Regions from separate parts of the Homo sapiens genome. Here region 1 is linked to region 2. Evidence: promoter capture Hi-C in human tissues and cell types (Jung and others, 2019). All regions are on one chromosome and are shown on one strand. The core of a region is centred on a gene start or on the middle of the fragment in contact, and the rest is flanking DNA. Distances in the headings are between cores, read along the strand shown.

What was found. The method cuts DNA at HindIII sites, captures the fragments that hold promoters and counts their contacts. A contact is called where the count stands out against the background at its distance.
Region 1: a fragment that was not itself captured here is called in contact with the fragment with the promoter of ZSCAN32 in region 2 in 1 of the 25 tissues and cell types used here (spleen).

What each region holds. Positions count from the first base shown.
Region 1 is chr16:3,615,866-3,618,914 of GRCh38, reverse strand. It overlaps a transcript of DNASE1 not described here. Among named protein-coding and RNA genes, the nearest start is that of SLX4, 5.8 kb to the right of the region's middle. The HindIII fragment of the contact is 7,289 bases long and covers 1-3,049 here.
Region 2 is chr16:3,399,447-3,402,855 of GRCh38, reverse strand. It overlaps ZSCAN32 (zinc finger and SCAN domain containing 32), which reads left to right and starts at 1,852. Exons shown (of 7, transcript NM_001284527.2): 1 at 1,852-1,911. ZNF174 (zinc finger protein 174) reads right to left here and starts at 1,641. Exons shown (of 3, transcript NM_003450.3): 1 at 450-1,641. The coding sequence starts at 851. LOC105371059 (a long non-coding RNA gene) reads right to left here. Exons shown (of 4, transcript XR_007064949.1): 3 at 3,330-3,409; 4 at 3,187-3,225. RefSeq lists silencers at 1,295-1,514, 2,065-2,214 and an enhancer at 1,592-2,091. The HindIII fragment of the contact is 10,964 bases long and covers 1-3,409 here.

The sequences.
Region 1 (3,049 bases), core at 115-2,614, 220 kb before region 2:
ACTGTACTCGAGCCTGGGCAACAGAAATGAGACCTTGTCACTAAAAAAAAATTACAAAACGGAAATAAGCAAATGTTCAGTGTAACATGTATTCCATTCTATACTACATTTTGTTCATTCATGCACTGAAGGGCATTTAGACTGAATATGAGGTGTACACGTTTTTGTTTGAGCATTTCTTCTTTTTGACGGAGTTTCATTCTTGTTGCCCAGGCTGGAGTGCAATGGCACCATCTCAGCTCACCATAAACTCTGCCTCCCAGGTTCAAGTGATTCTCCTGCCTCAGCCTCCCGAGTAGTTGGGATTCAGGCACCCACCACCAAGCCCGGCTAATTTTTATAGTTTTAGTAGAGACGGGGTTTCACCATATTGGCCAAGCTGGTCTCAAACTCCTGACCAGAGGTAATCCGCCCGCCTTGGCCTCCCAAAGTGCTGGGATTACGGGCGTGAGCCACCGCGCCTGGCCCTTAAACACTTTTTCAATTTTTTGGGACATATCCTTAGAAGCGGAATTGCTGAATCATATGATGATTTTATCTTTAACTTGTTCAGGAACCTCAAACTGTTTCCCACAGCAGCTGTACCATTTTACATTCCCTCCAGCAATGTATCAGAGTTCTAACTTCCTTACATCCTCACCAATACTTTTTTTTTTTTTTTTTTAGGAAATGGCTGTCCTACTGGCCATGAAGTGGTATCTCACTGCAGTTTCAATTTGCACTTCTCTAACGATTCATGATGCTGATCATCTTTTCATGTGCTTGTTGGCACCTGCCACTCTTTGGAATGTCTATTCAAGTCCTATGTCCATTTTTTTTTTTTTTTTTTGGTCTTGGCTTCTTCACAGGACAAGTTCTACCATGCCCATTTTCTGAGTTGTCTTTTCATTGAGTTGTAAAAGTTCTTTCTATATTGTGCTACTAGAATGTCTTAGTCCATTTGGGCTGCTCTTACAAAATACCACAGACTGGGTAGCTAATAAACAACAGAAATTCTCACTGTTCTGGAGGCTGGGAAGTCCAAGATCAAGGTGTTGGCAGACTCTGTCTGGTGAAGGCCCACTTCCTCTAATGGCAGAAAGGGTAGGGGGTTTCTCTCTTGGGCCTCTTTTCTTTTTTTAAAAAAATTTTTGTAAAAATGGAGTCTCACCTTGCTGCCCAGGCTGGTCTCAAACTCCTGGGCCCAAGCAATCCTCCCGCCTCCGCCTTCCAAAGTGCTGGGATTACCGGCATGAGCCACCACACATGGCCACAAGGGCCTCCATCCTTATCCTTATGCACTAATCCCATCACCTTGCGGTTGAGGCCTTCACATATGAATTGGGTGGGGGGAGACATAAACATTTAGACAGCAGCATAGATTCTTATCAGGTATATGATTAACAAATATCTCCCATTCTGTGGGTTGTCTTCTCATTTTCTTGATAGTATACTTTTACACAAAAAAGTTTTTAATTTTGATTAAATCCAATTCATTATTTTTTGTTGTTTCTGCTTTTAGTGTCATATCTAGAGTCTACTGCCAACTCCAAGGTCATAAAGATTTACCCTTGTAGTATTCTTTTTTTTTTTTTTTTTTTTTTTTTTTGAGATGGAGTTTCGCTCTTGTTGACTAGGCTGGAGCGTAGTGGTGCGATCTCGGCTCACCGCAACCTCCATCTCCCGGGTTCAAGCGATTCTCCTGCCTCAGCCTCCCGAGTAGCTGGGATTACGGGCGCACACCACCACGCCCTGCTAATTTTGTATTTTTAGTACAGACGGGGTTTCTCCACGTTGGTCAGGCTGGTCTCAAACTCCTGACCTCTGGTGATGCCAAAAGTGCTGGGATTACAGGGGTGAGCCACCACGCCCAGCCTACCCTTGTATTCTTCTAAGAGTTTTATAGTTTTCACTCTTCCATTGGGTCTTTGATCCATTCTGAGTTAATATTTGTACATGATATGAGGTAAGGGTCTAACTTCATTCTTTTGCATGTGATATCCTGTTATCCCAGCTCCATTTGTGGAAGACACTACTCTTTCACCATTGACTAGTCTTGGCATCCCGGACAAAATCAATTGCTCATAAATATAAGGGTTTATTTCTAGACTCTCAATTCTCTTCCACTGACCCATATGTCTATCCTTATGCTGGTACAGTACCACACAGTCTTGATTACTATAGCTTGTAATAAGTTTTGATATAAGGAAGTACGTTCTTGAAAAAGAACAAAGTGGCTATTTGGGTTTTGGGTATTAAGAGCCCCTTGCAATTACATATGAATTTATTTATTTATTTATTTAATTTATTTATTTGAGACACAGTCTCACTGTATCACCCAGGCTGGAGTGCAGTGTTGTGATCTTGGATCACTGCAACCTCCATCTCCTGGGTTCAAGGGATTCTCCCGCCTCAGCCTTCCAAGTAGCTGGGATTACAGGTACCTGCCACCACATCCGGCTAATTTTTATATTTTTAGTAGACATGGGGTTTCACCATGTTGGTCAGGCTGGTCTCGAACTCCTGACCTCAAGTGATCTGCCTGACTCAGACTCCCAAAATGCCGGGATTACAGGCGTGAGCCACCGCACCCGGCCAATTCCATATGAATTTTAACATCGGTTTTTCCACTTCTGCAAAAAAATTAAAACGTTGTTGGGATTTTGATAGGGATTATGCTGGTAGATGCTTTGGGGGGAGTTTTGCTGTCTGAAACCTCCCTTAAATTTGTCTAGCAGAACATATAGAGCAAAATCACACAAAGGCAGCAGTGGCAGGCAGCACACTGAAAGAAATGCAGTGTAACTCATCTCGAATAACTTTTGTATACTTATACACGTAAAAACAGTTATTTCCTGTCCTGATTTCACCAATTTTAGCAGTCTAGAAAATGTGACTATACAACAGTAAATAAAAGTTAACATGATCAAAGAACTCAGGAGACAATTCTTTCCTTGTTCAATCTGCTGTCTCCCCAACCCCTGTCAAGATAAAGGAGAGGGAGGTGGACAGGTTATGGCTTTACCATTTATAATCAAACCACAGACCTGGGATAAGGGCCCTTCAATTC
Region 2 (3,409 bases), core at 603-3,102:
AGAGGCTGGAAGCAACTTCTGAAGCCATCCAGTCCACTTCTGAGACTTAAATAGGGAGAGATCCAGATACCAAACATTACCCAGATGAAAAAGAAATCGGCCGGGCACGGTGGCTCACACCTGTAGTCCCAGCACTTTGGGAGGCCGAGGCGGGCGGATCACGAGGTCAGGAGATCGAGACCATCCTGGCTAACACGGTGAAACCCTGTCTCTACTAAAAATACAAAAAATTAGCCGGGCGCGGTGGCGGGCGCCTGTAGTCCCAGCTACTCGGGAGGCTGAGGCAGGAGAATGGCGTGAACCCGGGAGGCGGAGCTTGCAGTGAGCCGAGATAGCGCCACTGCACTCGGGCCTGGGCGAAAGAGCAAGATTCCGTCTCAAAAAAAGAAAAAAAAAAAAAAAGAAAAGAAAAAGAAATCCCCAGGATGATGGGAGAGGACCCTCCTTACCCACTGCTTTGGTTTCTTGGATGCTCTGTGAAAATCTTCCACGAGGGTCACAATCTCCTTGCTGCTCATTGGACATCGATGCCTGACCCGAGCCTGGATCTCCGGGGGCAGGATGGTCAGGAACTGCTCCATCACCAGAAGCTCCAAAATCTGCTCCTTGGTGTGCAGCTCGGGTTGCAACCACTGACGGCAGAGCTGTCGGAGCTGGGAGAGAGCCTCTTGGGGTCCAGACACCTCTTGATAACAAAAGCGTCTGAAGCTCTGGCGGCAGAGCTCAGGATCTGGGCAGTTTTTTTGCAGAGGAGGGCCCCGTTTCTCTTCTAGTTTGGCTATTATGTGTCTCTCTTGCTTGGAGGAAGCTTCAGTGTTGGAGCTTAAAGTTATCTCCATTTTAGCTGCCATTTTGGGCGTCAGGAGACAACTCTCTCCTTGTAAACGGGTTAAGCCTTTGGGATCATGACCCTGGAGAAGTCTCTGAATACTAGAAAGATTCTAGAAACGAAGGTTCTCTGAGGATGTTAGGGGGAACGGGATGCAGAGACAAAGCCTCACTTGCTAGCCTTTACTAGCCAAACTCAAGACAACGCGGTCCCTGGGAGTGGGAAGAGTTTTGTCTTCTTGTCAGTTTTTTGCAGTCTTGCAAAGGAGAAAAGTCATAACGTCCTAAAAGGACTCTGGGGAAAAAATACTTCTTTTATTTCAGTAGCAAGCACACAGGTCTCGGATTTAATGAGCAATACGCTCTAACCGGCGGGTGGAGCGGAATCCCTAGGAAAAGTTCAAGCTGTCGCAGGTAGCTTGCCCCAACTCTCCCGCATCCTGGCGGAAACCGACCGGGTGCATGTCGCCGGGTGCTAAACGGTAGAGCTAAGCGAGGCCACAGCGCCAGCCGGGGGTGTGAGGTAGCGAACAGCCTCCTGCACGCGAGCAAAGCGGCTGCTCGCTGCCGAGGCGCCGCAGGCCCAGTGGCTCCGGCCTCCAGGGCGGCCCCGCGGCCCAGCCAGCCCCAGGCCTGGCGAAGCTGCCGCAACCCGATGCGCAGCTGAACTCCACGCCCGGTGTGAGCTCGGACTGGCGACTGCGACACCGGTACCCCGAACAGCCCGGCGCCCCGCACCCACCTGCAGCCGACTCACCTCTCCGGGAACCCAAGACCGAGGGACTTAGGACCCGACACCGGCGAGCACGGGCTGGGGGCGGGGCCGATGCCACTCGCTGCGGAGACGCCCACTAGCTGCTGAGGACAACTACTGACAGGGCCCGCCTCCTGCCAAGGGCATTCTCTACCGTCTATTGGTTGCTGCGCCTGTCAATACCGTCGCAGTGCATCCCGGGAGCTGCAGTCCGGCAATTCGGCTTGCGGGCCTGCGCAGGGGCGTGCGTAATGGGCGGAGCGAATCGCGCCGCTGACTTCCGGCCCGGAGGCTGAGGGAGTTTGTGGAGTCGCGAGTGCTGGTGTCCGGTGAGTTCTCCGCTTCCTTGCGGCCGGCGGGATTAGCCGCTGGGCCCTGCGACGGCCGAGGAGCCCCTCCCCGCTGGGAGTCTTCTCCGAGGCGTTCGGGTCCGGCCCCGATGGGCGTCTCCTTGGGACAGGCAGCCTCCCTCAGGCCGGGCGTCCCCAGACGCGCCGCGATCACCGTGCCCCGCTCCCACCGTGCGGATCACCCCGAGCCTGAGCGCCGGCGCCCCGGGACCCCCTGGCCTTGACCCTGCTCATCTCGTCCCTGTCTCGCCCACTCCCTACTCATCCACAGTGCCTAGCCCTGGCACCGAGTGCGTTCTGAGTACTCAATAAATAGTTAACTAAGTGAAAAACCTATCAACCTGGCTCCCCATCCTCATGCTACATTTTTTTCCGAGTGTTTGGGCCATCGCTAGAGTGAAGTAAAATTTTCAGAGAACAGCATTTTAAAATTTAACGATGAGTGGGAGGTAAGGGGTCAAAAGGGGTCAAGAAGGGTGCAGGTTCCGCCTTCTGCATGAAGTTAGAAGAGCTTTTATTAAATTCTTCTTCAGCCAGGTAAGGCACAGGATGAACATAATGAAGGCAAGGGGTGCTGGTTCTAGTCCTGGCCTTGCTGCCTAGGAGCTGTGCTGTGTGATGCTTTAGGCAAGATACTTCATCGCTCTCAGTTTCTTTTTGGCTAGAAAGCAGTGCTAACAATAATAATGCCCTTGATTTCTCTATCTCTAGAAGCACTGAAATGTAAAGAGAATTTAAGTGAAGGCAGTTCAAGTTCCTTGAGAAAAGGGAACCCAAATCCATTTTTAAAATATAAAAAAATTTCTTTAATTTTTAAAAAACATTTACCATCATAACCATTTTTAAGTGTACAGCTCAGTAGTCCTGAGTATATTCATCTTGTTGTGCATGCTGGATCCATTTTAATACCACATGGTGAGGGTGTATCAGCCCCTGGAGAAAATGTAAATTACGATCTGCTTTAATCTGTGTTTTAAGTAGATAAAAACCAACACAAACTCATTAAAAAAGACTGCCTTCGCGGGTGCAGTGGCTCACACCTGTAATCCCAGCACTTTGGGAGGCCAAGGTGGGAGGATCACTTGAGCACAGGAGTTTGAGACCAGCCTGGGCAACATAGTGAAACTCCACCTCTACAAAAAATACAAAAGTTAGCTTCTATTTAAAATTATTTTTAAGGTCGGGCATGGTGGCTTATACTTGTAATCCTAACACTTTGGGAGGTTGAGGTGGGAGGATTGCTTGAGTTCAGGAGTTTGAGACCAGCCTGGGCAACAGAGTGAGACTCCATCTCTAAAGATAAAAAAACAAATAAAATTATTTTTAAAAGTTATTTATTAATTTTAAATTATATAAAACTATTTTTAAAATTAACTCTTAAAAAAATATTGCCTTACATAAACTGGCCTTGGAGATCCAAACATGTTGTCAAGACTTGAGTATATTGTCCTCTTGTAAACAGGCTCACTCCTGTGAT